4 separate regions of the Homo sapiens genome follow, and regions 1, 2 and 4 are each linked to region 3. The links are contacts of gene promoters, found by promoter capture Hi-C in human tissues and cell types (Jung and others, 2019). All regions are on one chromosome and are shown on one strand. The core of a region is centred on a gene start or on the middle of the fragment in contact, and the rest is flanking DNA. Distances in the headings are between cores, read along the strand shown. Region 1 overlaps LINC00367 (long intergenic non-protein coding RNA 367). Region 2 overlaps XPO4 (exportin 4). Region 3 holds the start of ZDHHC20 (zDHHC palmitoyltransferase 20). Region 4 overlaps LOC105370103 (a long non-coding RNA gene).

Region 1 (7,149 bases), core at 4,291-6,790, 520 kb after region 3:
TTTTTGGCACGCATGCTATTGATTGCTAAATGTAATAGTCTGATTGTGACCCTGAATAAATGTGTTTTTTTTAATGTGCAAATAAAAAATTTCCTTAAATGCCTACAGAATACAGAAAACAACTTTTCAGGTATTAACCTGATATAACTGGCCATTCGCTTTTATTGCAGAGAACTTCTCCACATCTGCTTCTACCATGAATTAACCAACACAAATCATATGTTCCATTGGTCGTAATGGCTGGTCACAAAAATCATAACAGTTTTACATGAGGTGAGATTTTTCAGTTTACAAATACTTTTATGCACATGATCTCGTTTTATATTTGCCACAAACCTGAAAGATAGTAAATATTGACATCTCATTTTACAGTTGAAAAACTCAGGGCTGAGAGATTTGCCTCATAAAACTCACATGCCACCTCTATGCTCTGAACCCAAATCTTCAGATTCCTGTTCATAGCAGCATCATTCACAACAGCCAAAAGGTGGAAGCAGCACAAGTGTCCATCAGTGAATGAATTATTACACAAAATGTGGTGCATCCATACAGTGGAATATTATAGAGCCTTTAAAAAGAAGGAAATCGGCCAGGTGCAGTGGCTCATGCCTGTAATCCCAGGACTTTGGGAGGCCGAGATGGGTGGATCACGAGGTCAGAAGTTCGAGACCAGCCTGGCCAACATGGTGAAACCCCATCTCTACTAAAAACACAAAAATTAGCCAGGTGTGGTGGCAGGTGCCTGTAATCCCAGATACTTGGGAGTTGGGAGGCTGAGGCAGGAGAATGGTTTGAAACCAAGACATGGAGGTTGCAGTGAGCCAATATCATGCCATTGCACACTCCAGCCTGGGCGACAGGGCAAGACTCTGTCTCAAAAAAAAAAAAAAAAGAAGAAGAAAAGGAAATTGCCCGGCATGGTGGCTCCCACCTGTAATCCCAGCACTTTGGGAGGCCAGGGTGGGTGGATCACCTGAGGTCAAGACCAGCCTGACCAACAAGGCATAACCCCATCTCTACTGAAAATACACAAAGAAGCTGGGCATGGTGGAGCTTGCCTGTAATCCCAGCTACTCGGGAGGCTGAGGCAAAGAATCACTTGAACCCGGGAGACGGAGATTGCAGTGAACCGAGATCACGCCACTGCACTCCAGCCTGGGCGACAGAGCAAGATTCTGTCAAAAAAAAAAAAAAAAAAAAGAAGGAAATCCCATTACATGCTACAACATGGATGAACCTCCAGGCCATTATGCTGAGTGAAATAGGCCAGTCACAAAAGTACCAATACTGTGTGATTCCACTCATATGCCATATGTAAAGCAGGCGAATTCATAGACACAGAAGTGTAAGTGTGATACGGCGCTGCGGGAGTGGGAACCGGGAGTTAGTGTTGAACAGGTGGCAGCTGCTGCACAGGCCGATGAAGAGTTCTAGAGGTGGACAGTGGTGATGGCCACACAGCGATGTGAATGCTCTCGATGCCACTGAACTGTGCACTTAAAAATGGGTAAGATGGTATTTAATGTTATGTCCTTTTTACCACAATTTGAAATAAAACAAAGAGCTCTCCAGGGGCTTCAGGTGTGTGGTCACATAGCCCGGTCCCGTGTCGCTGTTACCAGGAGACTTCGGTGCGGCGAGCTCGGGTGCCAGGAACCCCGTTCCGTGTCGCCCTTTCTGTTGACCGCTAACTGCGGGGGATTTCGCCCGTCCTGCCTGCCCCGTGAACGGCCAGGCCCTTCAGGAGCTGCGGACCGCCAGGTCCTACCGCAGCGGCACGGGGCGCACTAGCCTCTTAGGCGCCGGGTGCTCCAGAGCCTCGCAGAGGACTCCCGATCTCTTCACACCCTCTCCAACTGCACTTGCAGCCACATCTCCCCCTCCCTCCCCTCCCTTTGGTCTTGTGAGAACGCAGTTTTCCGGAGCCCTCCCCGTCTCTCCACCGTTTCTCCATCCCCCCGGGGTTCCTCTAGCACGTGCTGAGCCCGCATCCTCCAGGCTAGCTCTCGTGGTGGGTGCCTGAGTGAAGAGAGCATTTCCCCTTTCTCAACAAAAGTAGTACAAAAGACGTCAAATCCAGGATGTTGTGGTTCAAATTTTAAATCTGCCACTTGGTTCTATATTCGGCAAAATCCTATTATTATCTGTGTTTTTTATTTTTATTGAGACAAGAGTCTTGCTCTGTAGCCCAGGCTGGAGTGCAGTGGCGCTATCTCGGCTCACTGCAAGCTCCGCGTCCCGGGTTCATGCCATTCTCCTGCCTCAGCCTCCCGAGTAGTTGGGACTACAGGCGCCCGCTACCACTCCCGGCTAATTTTTTCTATTTTTACTAGAGACCAGGTTTCACCTGCGTTAGCCAGGATGGTCTCGATCTCCTGACCTTGTGATCCACACGCCTCAGCCTTCCAAAGTACTGGGATTACAAGCGTGAGCCACCGCGCCCGGCCTATCTGTGTTTATTTTACGAGGTTTTGAGGATCCTGTTAAAGGGCTCAGCATTCTCAGTTCGGTTCTACAAATGTTTAATGAACACCTAATATATGACTGGCACTATCCAAGAAGAGATATCTTCTCTCCCTTCCTCTGTTCCTTCATTAAATATATTTTGTGTACCTGCTGTGTGCCAGACACTGTACTGTGTATTGGGGATACCCGTGAAGAAGGTGGACATGCTTCCTTCTGCCCAGGACTCACAGGAGGGGAAAGCATTTAGAAAATTATAATACAATAGTCTCAAAGGTATGATGGAGAAGTGGAGGAAGCTGCTGCTGGAGCACCCAGGAGAGGACGCGATCCAGACTGGGGAGGTCATGGAAGGCAGCCCAGCGGAAGTGATGCCTACCTGAAACCTACTATTAGGCAGCAGAGGCCGGAGAAGGGGCACACATGGTGTGGGGGATGTCGCCATATGTCTGGAGCTTCACAGTGCCTGAAGAAGATTTGAGGCTGGAGGCACAGGCAGGGCCCAGGTAGCGAAGGGCCGTATGAGTCTTATTAAGGAAACTGGGCAAGATTAACCAAGTTGGTTATCTGTTGCTTGCAACTAAAGAACTCAACCAGACTGAAATAGAATCACAGAATCGTGTATTTCGAGTCTCGCAAGGAACTCCAGAGACAATCTGATTTGGAAACAAACCTCTGGACAGTTAAGGATTATCAGCCCTCTCTTGTAAGTGGGGTGGATCACTCAGGTTAGGAAACAGAAGTAACCCCACAGTGTCACAGTGAATATGTGCTAGAGTGAAAACACCCACACCTCCTGTCTCTCAGGGTGGAGGGGCGCATTCCCCACCACCTCTTTGTTTATCCCACGTGGTATCTAGTATAACACCTTGCTTTGAGAGAGAACCATTTTAGTAGAGATAATAATACCCAATTTAAGCATATCAGTTAAAAACAATGAGAAGGAAAAAGCTACATTAAGCTGGTAAGAGAGTAAAGGTGCCATATAGTACTTCTTCCAGTATTCAGACCAACTCTTTTAGATTTTTTTTACCAACCTCCTATGTTAAATATACTTTTTTTTTTTTTGAGACGGAGTCTCACTCTTTCGCCCAGGCTGGAGTGCGGTGGAGCAATCTCGACTCACTGCAACCTCCGCCTCCCGAGTTCAAGCAATTCTCTGCCTCAGCCTCCTGAGCAGCTGGGATTACAGGTACCTGCTGCCATGCCCGGCTAATTTTTGTATTTTTAGTGGAGAAGGGGGTTTCACCATCTTGGCTGTGCTGGTCTCGAACTCCTGACCTCGTGTTAGACCCGCCTCGGCCTCCCAAAGTGCTGGGATTACAGGCGTGAGCCACCACGCACTGCCAGTTCTATTCTTTCTTAACTTCCCTTTTCCTTGAAATAATCCTCCCCTTACCCAACTGACTCTTTTCTCCTCTTTTTTTTTTTTTTTTTTTTTTTTTGTTGTTGTTGTTGAGATGGAGTCTTCCTCTGTCGCCCAGGCTGGAGTGCAGTGGCATGATCTCGGCTCACTGCTACCCCTGCCTTTGAGGTTCAAGCAGCTCTCCTGCCTCAGCCTCCCAAGTAGCTGGGATTACACGTGCCCGCCATTATGCCCGGCTAATTTTTGTATTTTTAGTAGAGACGGAGTTTTGCCAGGTTGGCCAGGCTGGTCTCAAACTCCTGACCTCAGTTGATCCGCCTGCGTCGGCCTCCCACAACTGACTCTTTTCTTATGTTGAACAAAATAAAGTTTCCCTGAGTGCCCTGAGCAGCTAGGGCGCCATCAAGGAATGAAGCGTCCTGAATGGATCCTTCTAGAAAAGGCTGGGGGTGGGAGCCACCTGGTGGCCAAAGCTGTGCAGACCACAGCTGTGTAATGAGGCAAGTTGGTTTAAAAAAGGAACAGGCTGCAGAGCCGAAGTATTTGTCAAAGTAATAAAAACGTTTAAATGAGTCATTTGGTTTATAGCAACTCCTAGGAAACGCTTTTCCAAACAATTTAGTCTGTTGAGCGCACACAGTACTGGTTTCCGCTAGAGTCTTGTTCATGTAATTGAGAAATTCGCAACTTAGACTTGAGCAGCAGTTCTCAAAGTGTGGTCTGTGGACTTCAGGGACACACGAAGTCCCCCTTTTCAATTGTATACCTGGGGGGTGCTGGACTTCCCCATCTACTTCAAACAAAACATATGGTAACAGGTCAAATGTGGAAGCAGAAATAAAAACTCCACCATCTGCGACCGGATGCGATGGCTCACGCCTGTAATCTCAGCATTTTGGGAGGCCGAGGTGGGCAGATCACTCGAGGTCAGGAGTTCAAGAGCAGCCTGGCCAACATGGTGAAACCCCGTCTCGACGAAAAATACAAAAAATTAGCTGGGCATGGTGGCGCACGCCTATAAATCCCAGCTACTCGGAAGCCTGAGGCGCGAGAATCGCATGAACCCGGGAGGCAGAGGTCGCAGTGAGCTGAGATTGCACCACTGCACTCCAGTCTGGGCAACAGAGCGAGACAATGTCTCAAAAAAAAAAAAAAAGAGAATTCCACTATCTGATATTAAACCCGCTATTCAAGAGGTTTGCAAAATGTAAACCAATGCCACTGATGCCACTAACTGTTATTTTGGGAAATATAGTTATTTTGCATAAAACACATTATTTGTGTTAACATGTAATTGGTTTATAATGGCCACTTTTCCATCTATAAATATTCTTTATTTTTTTCCATTTTAATTTTTAATATGATAAATATTGATAGATAGATAGATATGGATATAGATATACCTCCTTTCTGTCCCCTCACTTCATATATATGAATTTGTCTGAAGTTCTCAATAATTTTTAAGAGTATAAAGGGATCCTAAGCTCAAAAAGTTCTAGAACCACTGGACTAGAGCAATGTGTCAGCTGAGCATTAAAAACAGTACAGAATTTGACATTCCCCTGGAGGGGTTACTGTGTGATGATTTGAATCAGGTACACTTGCAGATGTGTTTCCATCAACCTCTGTATTGAAGGCCCAGTTATCTCTACTTACCTTGTTGCTCGTGTAAACACCTCTTAAGTACCACTCCAAATCTTTGGACACCGTTGGACGCTTACTCCACCCTGCTGCCACTGCAGAAACCAGCTGTCTGTGGACACTGCCAGCTCCATGTGGCATCCCAAATGGCACCCACCTCACAGGACCCCTGGCCCCTATGCTTGAGAAACCCACAATAAGTCAGAGAAAAAAGTAAGTGCAGAGAAATTGAAGCTTGTGGGGCGAATCTTCAACCAATGAGCTTAGGAGCAAACAGATAACGTTTTTTTCCTCTCCTACCTGACACAGTGTGCTGAGATCCAGGCCCCTCCAGAAACAGTCCCAGAAGCCCAAACAATCAGTTGTCAGATGCCCAATGGTGACCAGCTCCTCAGCCCAAAACTCTAGCACTCCGTAAGTTAAGGCTATGCATAGTTTACCATTTCACCATATTCTCAGCATCTACAAACTATAAACAGCCTTCAAAGAACAGTAGTAGCATTTTCATAACATTTATTTTGTGTCTAATCCGACTCTATGTCATAAGAATTAAAGAAGTAGCTTCTAAAATCTCAGTCTCCTGAAAATGAAGCTTTAGAATTGTTTCCTAAAATAACATTATTTTATATTACCCATTACCATTATTAAAAATGGTAATACTCGACCAGGCATGGTGGCTCACACCTGTAATCCCAGTACTTTGGGAGGCCGAGGCCAGTGGATCCTGAGGTAAGGAGTTCAAGGCCGGCTTGGCCAAGATGGTGAAGCCCTGTCTCTACTAAAAATACAAAAAATTAGCCGGGCGTGGTGGCAGGTGCCTGTAATCCCAGCTACTCAGGAGGCTGAGGCAGAGAATTGCTTGAACCCAGGAGGCGGAAGTTGCGGTGAGCCAAGACTACCCCACTGCATTCCAGCCTGGGCGACAGAGCCAGACTCTGCCTCAAAAAAAAAAAGTAATACTCTGATTCTAGAAAGGTTACACTGAAATAGACACTCTCATGTTGTTGATAAAAATTGTTATAACTTTTCTGGAACAAAATTTTGTTTTGTTTTGTTTTTTTGTTTGGTTTTGTTTTTTGAGATGGAGTCTCCCTCTGTTGCCTAGGCTAGAGTGCAGTGGTGAGATCTCTGCTCACTGCAACCTCTGCCTCCTGGATTCAAGCAATTCTCCTGCCTCAGCCTCCCGAGTAGCTGGGATTACAGGTACGCACCACCATGCCCAGCTAATTTTTTGTATTTTTAATAGAGAGAGGGTTTCACCATGTTGGCCAGGCTGGTCTTGAACTCCTGACATCAAGTGATCCACCCACCTCGGCCTCCCAAAGTACTGGGATTACAGGTGCGAGCCACCGCACCTGGCTGGAACAAAATTTGGCAACAATTTCTACAGAAACAATTTAAAAATGGGACAAACAGTTATGCACAAAAGTATTTCCCTTAGCACATCTATACTATAGTATCTTTAAACGCAATTACACATTCAATACTATGATGACGGTTACAAATATTTTATGACTCTATGCCATACTGTCACATTTTATGTAATCAATAAAAATTCCATATTCAAAAAGTTTTTAATAAAAAGCAAAATTATCACTATATAATGTTAAGTAAAGGGTGAAGGATACAAACTGTACGATCTCAGTTTTTTGTAGCAAGAAAAAGAAAAAAATAAATAT
Region 2 (6,996 bases), core at 611-3,110, 640 kb after region 3:
ACTTTGGGTTGCATTCTGCCCTATAGAAGTTTACAAACTTCTTGATTTTTTTTCCTTCTATAAGGTCTTGGAAAAAAAACCCACTTTCATTGTGTTTTCTTCCTACCTTTTTGACCAGAGTCTTCTTGATCTCGCTTATGGTCTCTTCCTTCTTTGCTCATCACATAAATATTGGCATTCCTATCTTAGTTCTCAACTTTGCTGACTCTGTACACTTTCCTGTGGCTCTCTCTTTGACACGTAGGACTTCAGGCACCGGTTCCCAGATGACTCCTACATCTATATTCAGCACAGCCTGCTCCAGAGTTTCAGAGCCTTATAATCCCAGTGCTTACTGGATGTTTTAATTTGGATGGCCAACAGACATCTCAGATTTAACATGTTCCAGTAGAATTCGTCATCTTCCTTACTTGCTTCTCCTTCCTTGTCTTCCTTTTCTTGATGCATATCCTTGCCATTCATCTCACTGGGCGTCCTGCTGGGCTTTGCTTTCCCTTATCCCTCTGTCCCTTTTCCATATTCAGGTGGTGATTCAGCTTTCCGTTTTATGATACAGTTTATATTGAAATACATGTTCAGATATGGAGGAACTCTTTTGTAATGATGACATTGGAAGAAAGGCAAGAATTTATATTGTATAAAAATTAAGCATTTATTATTAGTTTTATGTGGTTTATATTTCAGGTAACATAAATTAAGCTTGAACAGCACACACCGTCTCGAAAGACAGTTATTTATTTATTTTAACTTTATTTTTAGTTATTTCATTAGCTATTTCATTGAGGGTATTCTTTCTTCTGATTGCTCGCTTCGAGACCATAATGAACATTCAAGATTGTGAGATGTATTCTTATTGTCCCAGATTACATTCTATCTGTTGACAGAATATATCCCTGGATATCATGCTTAAATGCTGATTAGATTCTAAGGCATCGTGACAAAAATTTAATTACAGATTTCGGATAAAGAACTTATAAGAGTGAGTTGTGTTCAGAAGTTTATGAACTAGACAGTGTGCATATATGAATTTGTCTATTGTACTTGGAATTTACTATATAAAACTTAAAATACATTGGAATATAGTTTGAAAAATATTTGTATTTTAGACCAAGGATTTGCAGACATTTTTTGTATAGGGCCAGATAGTAAACACTTTAGGCTTTGCAGGTCATATGTTCATATTCAACACTGCCATTGTAGTACAGAAGCAGCCATAGATGATACATAAATAAGCACGGCGGTGTTCCAGTAAAGCTTATTGATGGTCATTAAAATGTGAATGTTGGCCGGGCGTGGTGGCTCATGCCTGTAATCCCAGCACTTTGGGAGGCCAAGGCCGGTGGATCACCTGAGGTCAGGAGTTTGAGACCAGCCTGGCCAACATGGCGAAACCCCGTCTCTACTAAAAATACAAAAATTAGCCAGGCGCCGTGGCACGTGCCTGTAATCCCAGCTACTCAGGAGACTGAGGCAGGAGAATTGCTTGAACCCGGGAGGCGGAGGTTGCTATGAGCTGAGATTGCACCATTGCACTCCAGCCTGGGCAACAAGAGTGAAACTCTGTTTCGGGGGAAAAAAAAAGAATTCTGTGTAATTTCCACAGGTCACAAAATATTATTTTTATTGGTTTCCCCCCAACCATACAAAAATGGAAAAAAGAAAAAAACACAACCATTCTTAGCTCACAGCCATACAAAAACAGGCGGGGGCCAAATTTGGCTTATGGGCTGTGGTTTGTTCTAGTCCAAAGAGTATAGCATATTTTAAGCATGTCAGTAAATCAACTAACTTTGTAATGTTTAGAGATTACTTAGTGTTTTAAATTTCATTACTAGAACCTTGAGAAGTTCAGAGATTAAGGATTAAGGGACTCAGTGAACAAGGATTTATTAAGTGTTCATTGTGGCCCAGCATACCAGTGAGTACTTAAATGTTCTGACCTGAAGTAATTTAGAAACAATTTGCCTAGTCAAAGTGAATATAGCCTAAAACTATGAGTTTGATGTTACACAACATTTACAAAATAGAGAGAGAACTTTGTGTGGGAAAGAAAAGGGCTAGTTAAGTACTTCGGCAAGTACAAAATGGTACATCCAACAGTAAGTGTTGGATGGATTAAGATTAATAATGATCATATTCCTTCACTAAATTTTCCTTGGCTCTAATATGTCAGATTACAGAAATGAAACCTTTAACATCTGAGAATATTAATACTATAAAACTAGGGAGCAGTATTTCAAGAGCATTCCCTTCATACAAAACACTCTACCAGGTGTTTCATGTCCGTATTGTATCACTGAAGTAAAATATAGGTTAGCTTTAAATGGATTTAAGTATAATTTACATTTGGTATTCAAAATCTTTTAGCATTTATTAATAGCAATGATGTAGGTTAAACTGAGATTCAAACAAATTGTAAGCAAACTGAGAATTAATAAAAGAACGTGCTCATTATATTTTGGTTGAATGAATGCATGAATGTCTAGGGATTCAATGGTATATTGCTTTTCTAAGTGCACAACTGTTTACTTCCACTAAAGCAGCATCTATATACTCTTTATTGAACTTGTCTGCTAAGTTTAGCAAGAAGCTGTAGCTAGGCATAGTTAGCATAATACAGATGACTGTCATTGTTGCTGTTTTTAGAAGAAGCAGTATGTCTGACTGGCTGGCATCTGTTTCTCTCTTTGTCATAACATGCTGGAGACAGATCAATTTTCAAAATGTAGGTAGCCCTCAGTTAAAAATCAATTGATATGTTTAAAATAATGACCTGTAATGTAAAGTGGACTGAGGGACAATTTTCAATTTAGTTTAATTCAGGAATTAATTTTCTAGAAATAACCAGCTACAGTGAATTTTTGTCTTACCTCATTCGGCATGGTAGACACGTGACCCTTACAAAGGAAGAATTTATATTTATGGATTAGTAATTCTTTCTAACAGGTACATCGAAAAATCAGAGAAGATTCAGATATGGCACAAGATTCTCTGCAGTGCCTTGCCCAGTTAGCTTCTCTTCATGGACCCATCTTCCCAGATGAAGGATCACAAGTTGATTATCTAGCACACTTCATTGAGGGATTACTGAATACTATCAATGGGTAGGTATACTTGCCCTTTGCAGCTGAAAAAGGAGCTCTACGTTTTGTGTTTAACAGTAGAAGAAAAAAAGAAACTAGTTATTTTTTCCCCCTTATATTTTGAAGTAAAGTCATATGGGTAATTTGAAATTAATAAACAGAGACATACCTTTTAAAATGAATCAGTAACGATATTTGCTTGTTTGGAAATGAGTTATTATATTAATAATTTTTCTTTTACTGCCACTTAATAATACTCATTCCTTGGTTTTAGAATTGAAATAGAAGATTCTGAAGCTGTGGGGATCTCCAGCATTATCAGCAACCTGATAACCGTGTTCCCACGAAATGTTTTAACTGCCATTCCAAGTGAACTTTTCTCCTCCTTTGTTAACTGCCTCACACACCTCACTTGTTCTTTTGGGCGAAGTGCTGCATTGGAAGAAGTGGTGAGTGACTATTCTAAAGTAAATTGTGTCAGTTTTCACAAGGAAATTTGCGGTGCCTTTGGAACATTTCTCATGACAAGTAATTATTTTAAGTGAGTGCTGGCTATTGTTAAAGTGACTGTTTTGTTTAGATGTGCAAATTATTTGGGAAACATGACCTTTAAAAATTTGTGGATTAAAATAGCTTTAGTTGGTGATATTTACTGGTCTTAAGCATTTAATTTTGAGATAATTTAGTACCCAAATATAAGAGATGGAATGAAATGAGCTGTGGTTTGTTCAACACAATTTTTCATGTAAAAATTATGTCGAAGGCTCTTTCTAACAGCAAAAACATTGTTTACAGGGTGTTGCTGTGGTGTGGTGTAATTACGTGTAATTTTTTTTTTTTTTGAGAATTTTTTACGTTGGACTTATTTGGCAATTATGTAAACATAATTTGGTTCAAATCATTGAAACCTTGCTTATTTTGGTTAGACTGTGCTCTCTAATTTTTTGGATGATAATGCTTTAATAGTGTATCCTGGTAGAATTTAATTTACATTGAAATTAAGACCAATAACAATACTGAAGATGTTTTTTGGTACAAATTTCCAAATGTGTATTTTCCATATTTTATATTTAAATTTAGACGTCTACTAAAACCCCTTGAGGACACAGCTGCTTTTGTAACAGTTACTCTGAATAGCTGTATTAATCATGGAAAAAAATTGATTTCATTCCACAAAGTAGTGATTAAATTGTTGAAACTAATTTTTCTTTTTATGAGTCAAAATGTGAATCTTTCTGAAAGGCTGTAAGAGGAAAAAGAATGTAGATATTTTGTTAGAATTTCATGTTAAATTGTAAGTTGTGTTGGTTAGATTCTGCCAACGTGTATGTGAGTTTTTTCGTATCCCTTCAGAGGTGTTCAGAGAATAGAGAACTCGAGAATGATTATGTTTATGTAATCGGGCACTTTCATGATTTGATGAGGAAAGGAACCAGGTCAGACAAGTGTTTATACGGTAGAGAAAATGTAGTAACAGAAAAATAGAAGTTTAAAGGCATGATATGTACAGTTGAATGTTTCAGAGGGATACTTTACATTCTAAACATAAAAATCCAGGGTAATTTTAAGTATTTAACATTTTAAGTATTTACAGTTTACTCAAACCTCTTTCAAATGATCACAGATTCTGAACTAGTCAGGTTTTATTTAACATGAATTCCTTGCACTTTCCCTCTCCACCTTGGTTTATTTTCTCTTCTAAACCAGGTGGATTAAAGAGCATGTTGATCCTATATTTAGAAACTAAGCTCCTTTTAGTTCTGTTTGTGAGTTAAGCGTGTTCCTAAACGTTTTAAAGAATTGCTGGAAGATATATGGCATCCTTGGTTTGCAAATTTTAAGTGCAGAATTTATTTGAGGACACTGACATCTTGACAATTTTTCCTTCAAGATTTGACATAGGAGTGTTGGAATATAGAAAGCCTGCATGCATTTGCAGAGAAGCAGATGTGTGTTGTGCTTATTTCACAGCAGGCGTGCTCTAGTGAAGATGAACCTAACAGGTTTCATTCAAGAAAAGTATTATTTCTTTTCATTTATTTTACTCTTTTAATTAATTTTTAATTGAGCTGTTTATGATATTTAAAAATTATTTTTTAAAATAATTGGTCACCTATTGAAAAGGACAGAGGGAAAAGATCTGTTTAAAGTTTTGCATTAGTCGTAGAAACCAGGTTGGGGATGTGTGGTGAAGTTGAGGGCTAATGGGGTGGCCCAGGCATGGTGACTTTCTTAAGAGTAAACCTCCTAAATGTCATCTCAACCTCAAGCGGTTTCCGTTGTATCTTCTGTATGCTGGGAGTAGAGGACCAGGGGAGTATACAGCTAATACCAGAAATATAGGAACAAATCCAGCCAAACCAAATTGGACCTCTGGGACAGAAACCATTTCATCTTTTGTTTTCTTGGGCACCCAGTAATTGTAGTAATAGTACATAATACGTAGTTGTCCTGAGATGGAAAAGTATATAAAGACATGATCTTTTTTTTTTTGAGATGGAGTCTCGCTCTGTCGCCCAGGCTGGACTGCGATGGCACGGTCTTGGCTCACTGCAACCTCTGCCTCACAGGTTCAAGCGATTCTTCTGCATCAGCCTCCCGAGTAGCTGGGATTACAGGCATGCGCCATCACGCCCGGCTAATTTTTGTATTTTTAGTAGAGACGGGGTTTCACCATGTTGGCCAGGCTGGTCTCAAACTCCTGACCTCGCAGTCCACCCACCCCAGCCTCCCAAAGTGCTAGGATTACAGGTGTGAGCCACCGCGCCTGGCCAAGACATGATCTTTTAAGTAAAATTTGAAAAATTGAGGCATATTAAAGATATGAGTTTGGGAGTTAACATGGGATGAAAAGATGATGAACTTTTGAGGGAGACTGCACAGTTACAGGCCAGGCAGTCATGAAGAGCAAGAGTTCAAGCAAGCTGCTTCACTTTTTTTTGGAGCATGTTAGCTTATTGGTAAAGTCAGGGTATGAATTCCTTCTACTGCTTTATGACGTGGATTAACTGCATGAAAAGTACCTGTATAGGCCGGGCTCAGTGGCTCACGCCTGTAATCCCAGTACTTTGGGAGACTGAGGCAGGCGGATTGCCTGAGGTCAGGAGTTCGAGACCAGCCTGCCAAACATGGCAAAACCCCTTCTCTACTTAAAAATATAAAAAATTAGCCGGGCATGGTGGCGGGCGCCTGTAATCCCAGCTACTTGGGAGGCTGAAGCAGGAGGATCTCTTGAACCCGAGAGGCGGAGGTTGCAGTGACCCAAGATCACACCACTGCACTCCAGCCTGGGTGACAAGAACGAAACTCCATCTCAACAAAAAAACAAAGGGGAGGGGGAGGGGGACGTGTATAGTGTACAATAATTTATTACAAGCAATAACATGTAGAATAATTTTTTAAAATGAGCCTTTAAAATAATAGCTTTTATTGAAAACCTGTGTGCACTCTTACCACATAAGAACAACTGTTGAGTTTTGTTTGGTGCAAACTAATTATAATTCTAATTTTTTAAAATTATTTTTTAAATGATTTTTATAATTGTAATTTTGTGAAATATTGAAAGCTTCTTTTTCCAGTAGGAAAACAGGTTCCACATGTAAGACTTTGTTTTACTGTGAGAATACTTTTTTCAGAGCTGTGTTTGTTTAGGAATATATACAGATTATCATCTTTTTTAATAGCAATTCATGTCTTTGATGGTGGTAACGTTGTGTAGCAAGGGAAGAAGAGCATCTTCATAGGAAGAAGCATTCTTGATACCAGTGTGTGTTTTTGAAACCCATGTCATAAAGCCACCTTGCTGGGTGGCTTTAGCATGTGAGTGAAGAGACATATTTATGAGTACTCTGACTTGCAGTTAACTGAGAGTCTGTGTTCACAAAGAGCAATTCTGGTATTCAGCCAAGTTTCT
Region 3 (7,825 bases), core at 4,657-7,156:
TAGGGAGGGCACCTCCCTAATGAGGGTCTTATGGCCTACTTCAGAGAATTCTTTTATGGCCTGCTTTAGGAGGGAAGGATGGGTCAGAGACACCTTCTTGTTCTGGTTGTTCCCTCAAATGCCAAGGTGCCATATATTGGGGTAACATGTCCTGAACCCCATCAGTAGAAAGACAAAAACATGGTTTTATGGGTTTGTCTTTTTTTTTTTTGAGACAGAGTCTCACTCTGTCACCCAAACTGGAGTGCAGTTGCGCGATCTTGGCTTACTGCAATCTCCACCCCATGGGTTCAAGCAACTCTCCTGCCTCAGCCTCCTGAGTAGCTGGGATTACAGGCGCCCAGCTAATTTTTTGTATTTTTAGTAGAGACGGGGTTTTGCCATGTTGGCCAGGCTGCTTTTGAACTCCTGACCTCAGGTGATCCACCTGCCTCGGCCTCCCATAGTGCTGGGATTACAGGTGTGTGCCACCGTGCCCAGCCTATGTTTTTTCATATATTCCAGCCCACCCCTCCGCCACTTGGATGAGTTGACATATTCAAAGGGCTGCACAGTAAGATTCAGCTCACTGCTGCAGGAAGCAAGACCCAGGACCTTGTGTGCCAAGTCCCTCTTCCACAATGTCCAGATTGGAATTTTATTCTGTCTATTAAGTTTTAAATTTGACAGCAATATTTTCTATTTCAAAGACTTGTAGTTATTATTTTTCAAATCCACCTGTTGTTTTTTGTTTGTTTGTTTTTTGTTTTTTTCTTAGACGGAGTCCCGCTCTGTCGCCCAGGCTGATGTGCAGTGGTGCAATCTCAGCTCACTGCAACCTCCGCCTCCCAGGTTCAAGCAATTCTCCTGCCTCAGCCTCCCGAGTAGCTGGGATGACAGGTGCCCGCCACCATGCCCGGCTAATTTTTGTATTTTTAGTGGAGACGGGATTTCACCATCTTGGCCAGGCTGGTCTTGAACTCCTGACCTCGTGATCCACCCACCTCAGCCTCCCAAAGTGCTGGGATTATAGACATGAGCCACTGCGCCCAGCCAAATCTACCTGTTCTTTTCCCATTTTTGTCTATTATTTTGTTTCCAAATTTTGTGCAATTTTCAAATGGAAGATATTCCTTCATTTACTTCTTTGTACAAGCATGCTGAATACTGTTTTTAAAAGTCTTCATCAGACTGCTTCATATAATTAATTTTATTTTGAGTGAACTCTAGTTCTGATTGTTGATTTTTATTTGCATCCTTTTTCAGTATTAGATCTCTTCATGTGTTTTAAAATTGTGGTTTAATTTTGAACTAGTGAATTGTTTGTATTTTCTTCTTCACTCTTTCCACATTTATATGTACATGGTTTCCATAAACCCCGTCTAATCGTTTCATAGCTGCCTCTACTTGCCCTCATTCTTCCCCAGCTCTCAGTCCAGAACTAGAATTTAAAATGGTATTTTCAGGTTCCTGGATGGTGGTTATAATGGGGAAACCACAGATCTAGTCCCCAGGCTAGTTGGCAGCTTGGTTTACTTCCAGGTTGGGGAGCTGCATGGTGTCCTCCAGTCTCCATGAAAAGCCATTATCCTAGAGATCAATCAGCACAATTCTCTTTTGTTAGAGAATGGAAAGGGATAGAGGTTGGGGATGAGGGTTTGAGGCTGACTTTGTCTTTTGTTTTCTATCTACCATTGCTATGTTTTGGAGTACAGTGGGTACATCAAAGCTGGCCTGAAGTCCTAAGTAGCTTCCTTGTTTTTTTTTGGAGAGAGTCTTGCTCTGTTGCCCAGGTTGGAGTGCAATGGCGTGATCCCAGCTCACTGCAACTTCCACCTCCCAGGCTCAAGCAATTCTCCTGCCTCAGCCTACGGAGCAGCTGGGATTACAGGCGCCCCGCCACCATGCCCAGCTAATTTTTTTTTTTTTTTTTTGTATTTTTAGTAGAGATGGGGTTTTACCATGTTGGACAGGCTGGTCTCAAATTCCTGACCTGGTGATCTGCCCACTGTGGCCTCCCAAAGTGCTGGGCCCACAGGCGTGAGCCATCGCACCCAGCCCTAAGTAGCTTTCTTATTACCTTCTCCACTGCCACAAATCAAGGTCAGGCTAGCATCATCTCTTGCTCTACGACTGCAACGGCCTCCCAACTGGTTTCCTTGCCTCTAGACTTTCCTCCCTCCAATCTGTTCTTCTTACCACAGCCAGAGTGATTGTTATAAAATGTAATTCTGCTCACGTCACTACACTGCCTAAAGTCTTTAAATGATTCCCTGTTGTCAAAACCAGTAGCAAAGATGGAGTGAAATCACAAGCCCAACATGGAAATGGAAGGAAGGGGTTTAAGATACTGGCTTCTATTGCTCACAAGCAAAGAACATTAATTCATGTCTGTAACCATTTACGACAGAAAGAGTCCAAAATAATAAAAATATTGCCTCCTCAAAAATGTGTCTGTCCTCATTGTACAAGGACATAGATCAGAAATATTCTCTAGATCCCACATAAATCACCTTAGAATATGTGGCAGTCATTTAGAAATCAGAAACTGGTCGGGCACGGTGGCTCACAAAAAATACAAAAAATTAGCTGGGCGTGGTTGTGTGTGCCTGTAATCCCAGCTACTGGGGAGGCTGAGGCAGGAGAATCGCTTGAACCAGGGAGTCGGAGGTTGCAGGGAGCTGAGATTGCACCACTGCACTCCAGCCTGGCAACACAGCAAGACTCTGTCTCAAAAAAAAAAAAAAGAAAAAGAAAAAAAAGAAATCACAAGCTAATGTAATCTGGTTGGCAACGCCAGAAGTTAGGAGGAGTAACTGGATAACAATAGAAAACTTTAAATATTTGTTCAACAATTTCTTACTAAATATTTCCTACTGCAAGTCACTGTGGATGTGCAAGAAATACTTTCTACCTTCTAGAACCTTACAAGGTAGTAGGCAAGATCACATATTTCAATGAGTATCAAAACTATTGGCTGAGCGAGGTGGCTTAGGCCTGTAATCCCAGCACTTTGGAAGGCCGAGGCAGGCAAATCACTTGACTCCAAAAGTTTGAGACCAGCCTGGCCAACATGGGGAAACCCCATCTCTAGCAAAAATACAAAATGCAGGCCTCACGTGGTGGTGCACGCCTGTAATCCCAGCTACTCGGGAGGCTGAGGCATGAGAATCACTTGAAGCTGGGAGGTGGAGGTTGCAGTGAGCCAAGATCACGTGACCGCACTCCAACCTGGGTGACAGAGCAAGACTCTACTGAAAAAAAAAAAAAAAAGAATGTGGCCTTATTTGGAAGTGGGCCTGTTGTAGATGTAATTAGTTAAGATGAGGCCATACTAGAGTAGGGTAGGCCCTTAACCCAATATAAGGGGAGAGACAGGAAAGGAGAATGCCACCTGAGGATAGCGGTAGATATTGGGGTGATGCCACTGCCACTGCAGGTCAAGGGATGCCATGGACTAATGGTCACCACCAAAGGCTAGGAAGAAGCAAAGAAGAATTCTCCCCTACAAGTTTCAGAGGGCACATGGCTGTGTTAGGTCATTCTTGCACTGATATAAAGGAATACCTGAGACTGGGTAATTTATAAAGAAAAGTGGATTAATTGGCCCACAGCTCTCCAGGCTGTACAGAAAGTATGGGGTCAGCATATGCTTCTGGTGAGGCCTCAAGAAGCTTCCAATCATCAGTTGGAGACAACATTGGAGACAACAGCAACAGGAAGGTCCCTCTCACCTTCCTCTCGCTCTTCTCCCCTGAAGCAGGCCATAGCACTAGCAAAAGCGTCTCAGGCCTTCCCCTGAAGGCAGACCTAAGACTGTTATTCAAGAGGTGCCCTCCCTCTACCCAGACAAAGGAACATCCTTATCTCTGAAGACACAGGACCACAGAGATAGACTTCTGCCTTCTCGGCAGAAGGCAAAGGGGAGCCAGCATGTCACATGGCAAGAGAGGGGGCAAGAGAGAGAGTGGGGGAAGGATCAGGCTCTTTTAAATAACCAGATCTCATGTGAACTACTAGAGAAAGAACCCCTCATCCAAGGGGATGGCACTAAACCATTCATGAGGGATCCACCCTAATGATCCAATACCTCCCACCAGGTCCCACCTCCAACACTGGGATCACATTTCAACATGGGATTTGGAGGGGACAAACATCCAAACCATATCCAATATCCTTGCCAACACTTTGATTTGGGACACCTACCCTCCTAAACTGTGAGACAACCAATTTCTATTATTCCCCAGTTTTGTGGTACTTTGTTATAGTCACCCTAGGAAACGAATGTGACAGTTTTATAGTTAGGTTATAAACAAAATGTCGTGAAAGATCATTTCTAGCAGCCCTGGAGCTTGTAAAGGACATGGCTTTGTGCTGAGCTCTAGCAGCATGGTTTTGGTACGTAGAGATGACATAGAGGAGAAACGGCTTTATGTTCTTCCATGTCCATCCGAATTCTATGTTGAGGTCTAACCCTCCTAAGCAGCCTCTCTGGAAAACTAGTTGAACTTGAACCTAAACCTACTGTCAACTAGGCCACTAACTAATATGACTTTTAAGGCACAAAATCAGGGAGAACAGAATCTTTTATACATGCTTTATTACTCAAGCAGCAGTGTGCAGTGATTAAATACTTACTCGCTTTTACTACATTTCTCTGACACAGCAAAGGGTGACGTCTTCTTCATGGAGACTTTAGTGAGCAGTAGCTAATTTAAAGCTCAGTGTAGGCCGGTCGTGGTGGCTCACACCTGTAATCTCAGCACTTCTTTGGGAGGTGGAGGCGGAGAGGGGTTGGGATTCCTTGAGCCTTGGAGTTCAGGGCCAGCATGGCAACAGGGCGAAACCTAGTTTTTACAGAAAATACAAACATCAGCTGGGCATGGTGGCGGGCCTGTAGTCCCTGCTACTCTGCAGGCTGAAGCAGGAGGAGTGCTTTAGCAGGGAGGTCGAGGCTTAAATGAGCCCAGGTCGTGCCACTGCACTCCAGCTTGGGCGACAGAGCGAGAAGACCCTGTTTCAAAAAACAAACACAAAAATTCATTCTAACCAAAACTGAATGCTAGTAGCAGGAACTGGTATGAAGATTGCGGTCTGGAATCCCTTCTAATGCGTCTGACCTTGCATTGTGAAGTCTTCACAGTGATGCTTCTGGGTTCTATATGATTATCGTCATTGCTTAGCAACCTCTAGTTGTAAATAAATTCTTTAAATTTCCTTAGTCGTTTGCGGGGCAAGGAGAGGGTCATTTACATGCCCTTTCCTTCTCGCTACTCAATCTTAAATTTGGGTTACGAATCAAACTGATGGACCCTACATGGCTTCTACCCGAAATTACAGGTATCTACCGTTCCATCTTCAAGAAAGGGAGGGGTTCCGCCAAGATGGACGAACATAAAAATCACAGGAGGAGCCTTCTAACAATGTGCATTCTTCGCACACTGAGTGGGGAATGGCCTTGTCATGTTTGAAACAGTGCCCCAACTACTCAATGTCCCAGGAACCCCAGTGGAGCGAGTTCTGTACACAGAGAGGGCCAAGATCCACAAATCAGCTAAGGAATCATTTCCATAGTCTCCCTCCCCTATTGAGTCTCGATCCACAAAAGCTATCCCCTGTCCCTCTCATCCATCAAGGGCGTGTTTTTCGCCTCTCCTTCCCCGGCCTCCCGCGTCCGCCCAGCCTGTCCGCATCCAGCCCCGCCACGCCCCATGGGCGGTCCCGAGCTGCGGCCCCGCCCCCTCACCGCCTCCCCGGCCGCGGAAACCCCGCCCCAACGACGCGGAGACCGGGGGCGGCCCGCGGCCCGCGGCGGGCGGGCTGGCGGGGACGGACGCGGGGGGAGGGGGGCGACGGGATGTGGGGTGGGGGCGGGGCCTGGCTGGGCGCCGGGACGGGAGGAGTCCCGGCGGCGCCTCGGACTTTTGCTCCCACAAGTCCTGCCTCGGAGGCGGGGGAGCTGGACCAGCAGCCGCCTGGAGCGTCCGAGTCACCGTCGCCGGGGCTCCCGCGCTCCCCAGAACGGTGGGACGCGGGGCTCGGCAGCCGCCAGCGGAACATGGCGCCCTGGACGCTGTGGCGCTGCTGCCAGCGCGTCGTGGGCTGGGTGCCGGTGCTCTTCATCACCTTCGTGGTCGTCTGGTCCTACTACGCGTACGTGGTGGAGCTCTGCGTGTGTGAGTACCGTCCCCGGGGACTGCGGCGGGGCGCGGGCCGCGGCTAGGGCGCGAGATAGGCCTCTGCGCCCCACACCCGCCGCCTTTCTGGAGCCAGCGCCGGACGCCGGGCGTCCGGCCCCGAACGCGCTCGGAAGCGCCGAGGTTGCTGCACCCGCCGCTTTGTTCAATCCTGCGGCGCGGCCTTGGGGCGACCTGGGGCTCCTGAAGCCTTGCGGCGGCTTCCCGGGTGCAGGTCTGGCCCAGGGAGGCCCCAAGAGCTTCCTGGTTCCCGCCGACACCGGGGGTCTGCATCCTTCTGGGAAGGAACGTGCAGAACGGGAGTAGTCGAGCTTCTTAGAAGGTTTAGGTTGTGTTTGTGGCTTTTTTGGCTTTTGTTCATTTTTTTTAAAAAACCAAATCTGTTCCTTCTGGATTGTTTTTGTTCAAACTGCGCGAGAAGAAACGCCTGTTACCTGTAGAGCCGGCTGTGGCGGGTTGGGGGAAGGGAGGTGTGTCTTTTGGTGGCCTCGGGCTGGAGGCGGGTCAGACCTGGAGGACGAGTAAGCTCCCACTTTTGATTTTTGGTGGTACTCGACTCATTGTAAAATTCGTTTATTTCTACTCTGAATCCAGCCGGCTTTTGCAGAAGGTTAAGACAGAAAGAATGGGTGGGAGGAGACATAACCTGATTATTTTTTTCTTGGCTGATTATTAAGGAGGCTTATATTTCTTATACTCATATTTTGGCGTGTTAATTTTCGTTACTTCCATTTTCCTGATAAGTTCTTAGCACAAAATTCTCATCTGATTCCCTGGAAAAAAGGAGTAGCATTGCAGTATACTTCAAGGATTTAACCTACTGGCTTGAATTGGTTGCCTTTAAGATTGAAGGAAATTGGTTGTCATTAATCAAAAACACTGTTTAGGGGTGACTGCTACATTTGTGATATTGGGCAATTTCTCCAACATTGTTTTGTCTTAAGTAAATTGTTCTTAGGCTTTGAGTATGTGGGTATTTTACACTTAAACTGGCCTCAACTAGGGTGTTCTGTATACATCTGCTGCCTATATCAATTTTTTATGAAAACCTAGGACCAAATGGTAAGTGGTGTTTGTAAACGTTATTGTTATTCCAGAATGTTCTACTCTTAGTCCTTAGACTGAATCTACCATTTTATGAAGGACTGTTAAGTGTTCTTTGAATAACGAACCACATCAGCTAGAAACTAATGTTATGAATGAGAAGAATCTGTACCACCCACTCTTGAAAGTGGCAGAATCAAGACTTCAATTATGTTTGGATTTGTACAGCTTTCAACCAAGTATTTGGTTAAAACCCTAGTTCTATACATGGAAGAGAATGCTTTGGCTCAGAAAATTTATAAGTTTTGAAATTAAAACATCCAGTTTTAAAATTACTTTGTACCTATAGAACGTTTAATTTTGGGACGACTATCCCTGCAGGTAGGCCCAGAATAAATTAGTTGTGGAATACATTTCCAAATAATATTAATCTTTTCAATATCATTGTTTAGTCTCATGCTTTTGGATACCAGAATGTTTACTAAAAATGATGTTTGAGTCAATTAAAATTACTAGATTTTAATATTTCTGGGAGCTACTTCCAGAAAGTGGTAGTGATCATAGGATTCTCATCAACTTATGATGATACCTCCTTTATCTTCTTA
Region 4 (7,877 bases), core at 903-3,402, 900 kb after region 3:
TTTAATCTTGATTTTTGTCTTGGATCATTCTTTCCACTTAAATCTGGTTTTAAAATGCCACAGTCATGCTCCCAGCCTTATTACTACTGAAAATTCTTAATGTCTACAACAAAGAATAACCCAATAGTTTAGTTGACTTATGTAAACATTTAGAATTATCCACATACTTGTTATGTCTTCCATTTTCTTTTTAATTTTCCATGCAGAGATGATGATTCAGTAAAAAACAAGTCTCTCAGTTGGGTGGGCATAGTAGCTCATGTCTATAATCCCAGTGCTTTGGGAGGCCGAGGCAAGAGAATTGCTTGAGCTCAGGAATTCAAGACCAGCCTGGACAACATAGGAAAACCCTGTCTCTACAAAAAAATAAACAAAATTAAAAATTAAAAAATTAGCTGAGGCCAGGTGTGGTGGCTCACGCCTATAATCCTACCTTTGGGAGGCTGAGACGGGTGGATCACTTGAGGTCAGGAGTTTGAGACAAGCCTGGGCAACATGATGAAACCCCGTCTCTACTAAAAATACCCAAAAAATTAGCCAGGTGCGGTAGTGGACGCCTGTAATCCCAGCTACTCGGGAGGCTGAGGCTAAAGAATTGCTTCAACCTGGGAAGTGGAGGCTGCAGTAAGCCAAGATCATGCCACTGCACTCCAGCCTGGGCGACAGAGCAAGACTGTCTCAAAAAAAAAAAAAATTAGCTAAGTTTGGTGGTGTGCAACTGCGGTACCAGCTACTAGGGAGGCTGAGGCAGGGGGGATCACTTGAACCCAGGAGTATGAAGCTGCAGTGACCTATAATCACACCACTCCACTCCGGCCTGGGTGACAGAGCAAGACCTTGCCTCTAAAAAAATTTTTTTAAACAGGATATTTCAGAGGAATTTCTAACAATTGTGTTGAGTTTACTGTTTTTTGGGTATAAGCAAACTTCAGTTTCTATTCCTATCAGTTTTGCCATGATTTTGCAGCTACTTACCTGCATTCAAACTCTCCATATCGTGAACCTCCCCTGCCTTTTTTTTTTTTTTTTTTTTTTTTTTTTTGAGACAGAGTCTCGCTCTGTCACCCAGGCTGGAGTGCAATGGCTTACTGCAACCTCTGCCTCCTGGGTTAAAGCAATTCTCCCATCTCAGCCTCCCGAGTAGCTGGGACTACAGGCGTGTGCCACCATGGCCGGTTAATTGTTGTATTTTTAGTAGAGATGGGGTTTCACCACGTTGGCTAGACTGCTCTCGAACTCCTGACCTCAAATGATCTGCCCGTCTCGGCCTCCCAAGAACTTCGCCTGCCTTTCTAACCTTATTTTCTTCTGTTAAGGAGAGATAAAGACTTTGGGAGCAAAGATGAGGTTCGGAGAAAGGTTTACTGTCAAGCAAGGAATCTGATCTGACCCAGAGAACTTCAGTTCTGGGGATGAGGCCCTAAGAATCCGGTCTCCGTCAGGAAAGCAGTCTGTGGGCTCTGGAGCGACCTGGGATCTGGAGTGTAAGTGTATCTCTATGGTTTGTCAAGAGGCGGTCTTCTCTGTGAGTGTGAAGTGCTTATTTCAGTGTAATGGCACCTCCGTGGTTTCCACTTATTCCCGATTATGGTACCCTCACAATCATTTTAGAAAGACTCAAGTCTGCATTGCCTCCCACCTCTTGGATGACATCGCTACTGTCATCATTATCATAATCACTAATATTATCATTGTAAGGTTTTGGAGACAGGGGTCATGCCTTATATTTCTTGCATTCCCCCATGGATGTGTAGAATACATTTTCTCTCTGGTCTTAGATGTTTTAATAATAAAAAGAAGGGCCGGGTGTGGTGAGTCACACCTGTAATCTCAGCACTTTGGGAGGCCAAGACGGGCAGATTGCCTGAGCTCAGGAGTTCGAGACCAGCCTGGGCAACATGACGAAAACCTGTCTCTACCAAAAAATACAAAAATTAGCCAGGCATGGTGGCGAATGCCTATAGTTTCAGCTGCTCAGGAGGCTGAGGCAGAAGAATCGCTTGAATCCAGGAGGCAGAGGTTGCAGTCAGCCGAGACTGGGCCACTGCACTCCAGCCTGGGCGACAGAGTGAGACTCCATCTCAAAAAAGAAAGAAAGAAAGAAAGAAAATGGGGAGGGGGGGACATGGATTTAAAAACTAACTAGTGGGTACTGTGCTCACTACCTGGGTGACAGGATCAGCTGTACCCCAAACCTCAGCATGATGCAATATACTCACATCACAAACCTGCATACGTACCCACTGAATCTAAAATAAAAGTTGAAATTATTTAAAAAATAATAAATAAATTATAAAACTTCTAACAACAACAAAAACAAAATAGGCAGATTTTAAAAACACTGTTATCAGTGAAATACTAAGTTTGGAAGAGGTCTCCTGACCCAAGAAGGGAAACACGTTCATCCTCCTTCACCACAGGGCTTTTTTAGTGGGAAAACCTGAGGACCAAGGCCAAGGAAAGCTTACCTTTCTCAGTCAGGGACTCTGACTCTTCCTCTGATATGGCTACTGAATTATTGCGTGACTTTGGGCAGGTCCCTTCTCTAGGACTGTGTCTTGTCACCTGCAAAAGGAGGGGGTGGGCATAGCCTTTCCCACTGTAGCTGCTTTTGAGTCCTTGACCTCATCTACCTTCTTTTGGGTCCTTGACCTCATCTACCTTCTTTTGAGTCCTTGACCTCATCTACTTTCTTTTGGGTACTACACCCTAGCGGTTTTTTTTTTTTCTTTTCTTTTCTTTTTTTTGGGGGAGGGGGGAACGGAGTCTCACTCTGTTGCCCAGGCTGGAGTGCAGTGGCATGATTTCAGCTCACTGCAAGCTCTGCCTCCCAGGTTCACACCATTCTCCTGCCTCAGCCTCCCAAGTAACTGGGACTACAGGGTAACCCGCCACCACGCCCAGCTAATTTTTTGTATTTTTAGTAGAGATGGGGTTTCACCATGTTAGCCAGGATGGTCTCAATCTCCTGACCTTGTGATCCACCCACCCCGGCCTCCCAAAGTGCTGGGATTACAGGCGTGAGCCACCGCACCTGGCCCACCCTAGCGTTTTATTGCCTGCTAGTTTGACAATGTTCACAATGAATGGAATCTTAACTATTGTTAAGGGGGAGCTCCTTAGTATTTATTTATATTTTAGTTCAGGTTCAAAAGTAAGATTTCTCTTCACACAAACGTCTCACTTTTTTTTTTTTTGAGACAGAGTCTCGCTCTGTCGCCCAGGCTGGAGTGCAATGGTGTGATCTCAGCTCACTGCAAACTTCACCTCCTAGGTTCAAGAGATTCTCCTGCTTCGGCCTCCTGAAGATGGGACTACAGGCGTGCACTACCATGCCCAGCTAATTTTTCTATTTTTAGTAGAGACAGGGTTTCACCATGTTGGCCAGGATGGTCTCAATCTCTTGACCTTGTGATCCATCCGCCTCGGCCTCCCAAAGTGCTGGGATTACAGGCGTGAGCCACCGTGCCCAGTCACGTCTCACTTTTAAGAATCAGTAGAATACTCTAGATTTAAGGTAGTCTGTATTCAGAGATCACTGATTAAAACAGAAGGGAGTGGAGCAGAGGGAAGAAAGAAAAGTGGAAAAATACTCTAATAAACATACAAGCCGCTTTTATGGATGGAAAATAGTAAAAAGCTGGCCTGTGGCATGCTCTAATTGCAGCCCACATGACCCTGCTTGTGCCTGGAGCAAAGTGGGGCCCTGTGAAAGGTTTCCTTACAAAGCAGCACAGGCTGGCTGGTTCATGAACTCACACACTGCGCTGTTGTTACAGCCAGGCTTTCATGCACACCAAAGCTGATTTCTAAAAGGGCGTTTGTGCAGTCTGTGTGCAAAGTAAATTTCCATCACTTTGGCTTTTCTTTTGCTGCTTTCAGAAGAGCTGGCTTATAAAAAGCCTTATTCCATAGTATAACATGTCATTTTTTCTACTTGCTTGAGTCAGTAATTAAATTGGTTTCATAATAACAGATATGAATTTAGCTTTTCAACTTGAAAGTAGGATCAGTGAAGGCTGGAATGTGGCTTGAAAAGAAACCAGTAAGTTCTTTCCAACCCAAAGTCAACTCTCCCTTGTTCAGCATCCAAAATCACTAAAAAACAAGCACTCAAGTAAACCAAATAAATATTGTACAAAGATATTTGATGACAAGAAACAGTGAAATTAAGTGCATTATGTTTTCAGCATTAATTATCTTTGTTGATCCACGTCAGCTCTATACAGGGTCTAACAGTAACAAGTTCACTCATTCCTTCATCCATCCATTCATTTGTAGGAGTTTCACAAATGGATAAGCCAGAAGGAAGGCATTCCTGGCAGATACGAGAGCATATGCAAGCTGCGCACCTAACACAGTAGCCACTAGCCGTGGCTGTTTAAAATTAAATGGAAGGCCAGGTGTGGTGGCTTATGCCTGTAATTCCAGCATTTTGAGTAGCTGAGGCAGGAGGATCACTTGAGGCCGGGAGTTGGAGACCAGCCTGAACAACATAGTGAGATCTGTCTCTATAAAAAAATTAATGTAAATTAAATTAAAAATAATTCTGATTAATGTTATACTTATGTGTGCTTTTCAAAATTAAATCAAATTAAAACTTCAGGCCGAGAATGGTGGCTCACACCTGTAATCCCAGCACTTTGGGAGGCCAAGGCAGGTGGATCACCTGAGGTCAGGAGTTTGAGATCAGCCTGGCCAACAGAGTGAAACCTCATCTCTATCAAAAATATAAAAATTAGCCAGGCGTGGTGGTGGATGCCTGTAATCCCAGCTACTCAGGAGGCTGAGGCAGGAGAATCGCTTTAACCCAGGAGGCGTAGGCTGCAGTGAGCCAAGATCACACCACTGCACTCCAGCCTGGGCAACAGAGTGAGACTCTGTCTAAATAATAATAATAATAATAATAATAATAATAATAATAATAATAATTCATTTCTTCAGTCACACTAGCCACATCCAGGTGCTCAACTGCCACACAGGAATAGTGGCTACTGTGTTGGAGAATGTGACATAGAACATTTCCTTTATTGCAGACAGTTCTGTTGGACAGTGCTGCAAGGATGGAGAGACTATTAAGATCACCTGACTACACCATTTAAAAAATTTTTTGAATGAACTATCTTTGTTTGTAAGCCCCAAAACATGGTCTGAAGACTCATTAGTGACCTGATCATACAGCTGACCTCTGAACAACATGAGTTTGAACTGCGTGCGGGTCACTTATAGGCAAGTGTTCAACTGCACGGGGCAGGAGCAGTTGGTGCCCAATCTGCTAATTGTTCAAAGGTAGAGTGTAGTTTTTAAAGACAAGTGAGGTAATTTCTTTTAAATCTCTAGGCTACTACAATACAGAATGCTGGGAAATGAATTAATGTTATGCTTACGTGTGCTTTTCAAAATTCCCCTTGTGACTAATGGGATGTCACTCTGCAAAAACATTGTTAGTTTCCCATTGATTCCACTGGTTTGAGTGTGTTTAATGCCGAGGAAAGTGAGAGTTCTTTCGGAAGATGGTAGGTTTTTGTCTTTTTGAGGTGGTTCATTTACTTTGAGAATCATCATTTTGTATTTTTAAAACCAAGTCTTATATGCAAAATTATTGAACTGTGAGAAGAAAAGGCAAATAAAATCTTTCTTTTTCATTGCAAATGTGTCTTTATCCAGTAATGACTTTGAAACGGGCATCTAAATACTTTCTCTGAAACCCCAGTGAAGAAAGTCAAGGGGTCATCCAGGGTGAAGATCTTAATTGGCCTGTTTCCTTCAGCAAGTCTACATGCTTGTTGATTTAGCTTCTCAGCTTCTAATTTTTGTAGATTTCTCAAATTCAGGATCTCCATCTCCCTTCCTCTTACTCATCCTCCTACCACCCCTAGAATCCTGAATCTAGACAAAGATAAAATCCATAAGTGACATTTTCTGTAAGTGAAGTTGGAAGTAATTTGGGAAAAAGCTACAGTAATTATAAGTGGTTATGAAACCCTAATTTTCTGACAAGAACCTACTATCTCTCTGGACATAGTTATACTCAAGCACATCAGTTTCCCTAGACAATATCATACACATCATAGCCTCTGTGACATATGGTTGTATAGGTTGTGGGTTGTGCACTGCACAAGGACACATTTAAGGAGGTGTTGCTCACATTATATACATCACAGATTTGGTACTTATAACAAAAATAAAAACAATTTTCCAGAAGATGGCAGTAAAGTTGTTGGAGGCTGAAAGAATGAGGGTCGTGGTCAACTCAGTGCACCACTGGCGGCTATATGAGCAAACAGCAAACTGTTCTCGTGAAAGCAGGATGTTGGTAAACTGACAAACTGTGCCTGCCGCCCAGTAGGAATGCTGAGGGCAGTCACAACCCAGGCACGAGTGTTTCTTGTGATTAGGCACAACTGAATCCTGTTAGCAATAATGTGAACCTGTGATCAATTAAGCAGCTGACCAATCTACCTCCTCCTCCCTGCTCTTTATACCCAATAAATATGAAGGGCTGAAGAAGCTCGAGGCTGCCTTTGCTCACTAGAAGCAGGGAGCTCTCTTCTTCTTCCCCTGGACCCTTCCTTTAAAACAGTTACTTTTGTCTTAAGTTTTCATTTCCACGTTCATCCCTTCTTTCAGTCTCATAAAGACGGTCTCAAGTAGTAACAGTAGTAACTGTCTCAAGTAGTAACAGTAGTAACTGTCTCAAGTAGTAACAGTAGTAACTGTCTCAAGTAGTAACAGTAGTAACTGTTGTAGCGATGGTCTCAAGTAGTAACTGTGGCAGTCTCCCACACAAAGTATCTTGTTCTTAAAAAAAATCAAGGGGCCAGGCCAGGTGGCTCACACCTGTAATCCCAGCACTTTGGGAGGCTGAGGTGGGCAGATCACGAGGTCAAGAGATCGAGACCATCCTGGCCAACCAACATGGTGAAACCCCATCTCTACTAAAAATAGAAAAATTAGCCGGGTGTGGTGACGCACGCCTGTAGTCCTAGCTACTTGGGAGGCTGAGGCAGGAGAATCGCTTGAACCCAGGAGGCAGAGGTTGCAGTGAGTTGAGATCGTACCACTGCACTCCAGCCTGGTGACAGAGCAAGACTCTGTCTCAAAAAAAAAAACCAAAAAACAATACATTATGACAATTTTCTGTAGAGGAGAGTACAATGTCTTGATGAAGAAGTACCTTTCTCTGATTTACACAAAGGTATGAAATGGACTACCATTGGCTCTAGGGCTGTATAAAATCAAATCCAGACTATTAGTGAAAGTGAACCAATGCAGTTTAATAAGTAAAGAAAAAAAAAGAATGATCAATAATATATATTGAGCCAGGCACAGTGGCTCACGCCTGTAATCCCAGCACTTTGGGAGGCCAAGGTGGGCTGATTTCTTTGAGCTGAGTTTGAGACCAGCCTGGGCAACATGGCAAAACCCTGCCTCTACTAAAAATACAAAAATTGGTGGCGGGGGGCAGGGTGTGCGGTGTGGTGGTGCATGCCTGTGGTCCCAGCTTCTCCAGGGATGAGGCTGGAGAATCGCTTGAACCCGAGAGGTAGAGGCTGCAATGAGCCAAGATCGTGCCACTGCACTCCAGCCTGGGTGACAGAGTAAGACCCTGTCTTAAAATAATAAGTATTGAAATTCTGGCTTCCAAAATACTTGTTCTTTGTTCATATATTATATTACATGTGCAATATAGTGTCTTCGTTCATTCTGGCCGCTATAACAGAATGCTGTAGACTGAGCGGAGCATGGTGGTATGTATGCATCTGTTGTCCTAGATACTTGGGAAGCTGAGGTAGGAGGACACTTGAGTCCAGGAGTTTCAGTCCAGCTTGAGTAACATAGCAAGACCCCTCTCTAAAAAACAAAAATGCTATAGA

What was found. Contacts are between HindIII fragments. The study calls those that stand out against the background at their distance.
Region 1: a fragment that was not itself captured here is called in contact with the fragment with the promoter of ZDHHC20 in region 3 in 1 of the 25 tissues and cell types used here (hippocampus).
Region 2: a contact is called between a fragment that was not itself captured here and the fragment with the promoter of ZDHHC20 in region 3, in 2 of the 25 tissues and cell types used here (aorta and dorsolateral prefrontal cortex).
Region 4: a fragment that was not itself captured here is called in contact with the fragment with the promoter of ZDHHC20 in region 3 in 1 of the 25 tissues and cell types used here (dorsolateral prefrontal cortex).

What each region holds. Positions count from the first base shown.
Region 1 is chr13:20,940,876-20,948,024 of GRCh38, reverse strand. It overlaps LINC00367 (long intergenic non-protein coding RNA 367), which reads left to right. Exons shown (of 6, transcript NR_104058.1): 2 at 171-273; 3 at 5,425-5,683; 4 at 5,780-5,884. It also overlaps the pseudogene HNRNPA1P30. Among named protein-coding and RNA genes, the nearest start is that of LINC00367, 5.0 kb to the left of the region's middle. RefSeq lists an enhancer at 3,955-4,531. The HindIII fragment of the contact is 5,625 bases long and covers 2,728-7,149 here.
Region 2 is chr13:20,818,240-20,825,235 of GRCh38, reverse strand. XPO4 (exportin 4) reads left to right here. Exons shown (of 23, transcript NM_022459.5): 8 at 2,947-3,104; 9 at 3,358-3,532. It overlaps LOC124903129 (a long non-coding RNA gene), which reads right to left and starts at 292. Exons shown (of 2, transcript XR_007063711.1): 1 at 107-292. The HindIII fragment of the contact is 4,182 bases long and covers 1-3,951 here.
Region 3 is chr13:21,457,384-21,465,208 of GRCh38, reverse strand. It overlaps ZDHHC20 (zDHHC palmitoyltransferase 20), which reads left to right and starts at 5,906. Exons shown (of 13, transcript NM_001330059.2): 1 at 5,906-6,155. The coding sequence starts at 6,038. LOC124903131 (a long non-coding RNA gene) reads right to left here and starts at 5,662. Exons shown (of 2, transcript XR_007063713.1): 1 at 5,030-5,662; 2 at 4,563-4,826. RefSeq lists a cis regulatory region at 5,665, an enhancer at 5,581-5,750 and a silencer at 5,614-5,993. The HindIII fragment of the contact is 17,074 bases long and covers 1-7,825 here.
Region 4 is chr13:20,549,409-20,557,285 of GRCh38, reverse strand. It overlaps LOC105370103 (a long non-coding RNA gene), which reads left to right. Exons shown (of 6, transcript XR_941725.3): 5 at 1,317-1,484; 6 at 5,037-5,652. Among named protein-coding and RNA genes, the nearest start is that of IFT88, 14 kb to the left of the region's middle. The HindIII fragment of the contact is 9,762 bases long and covers 1-7,033 here.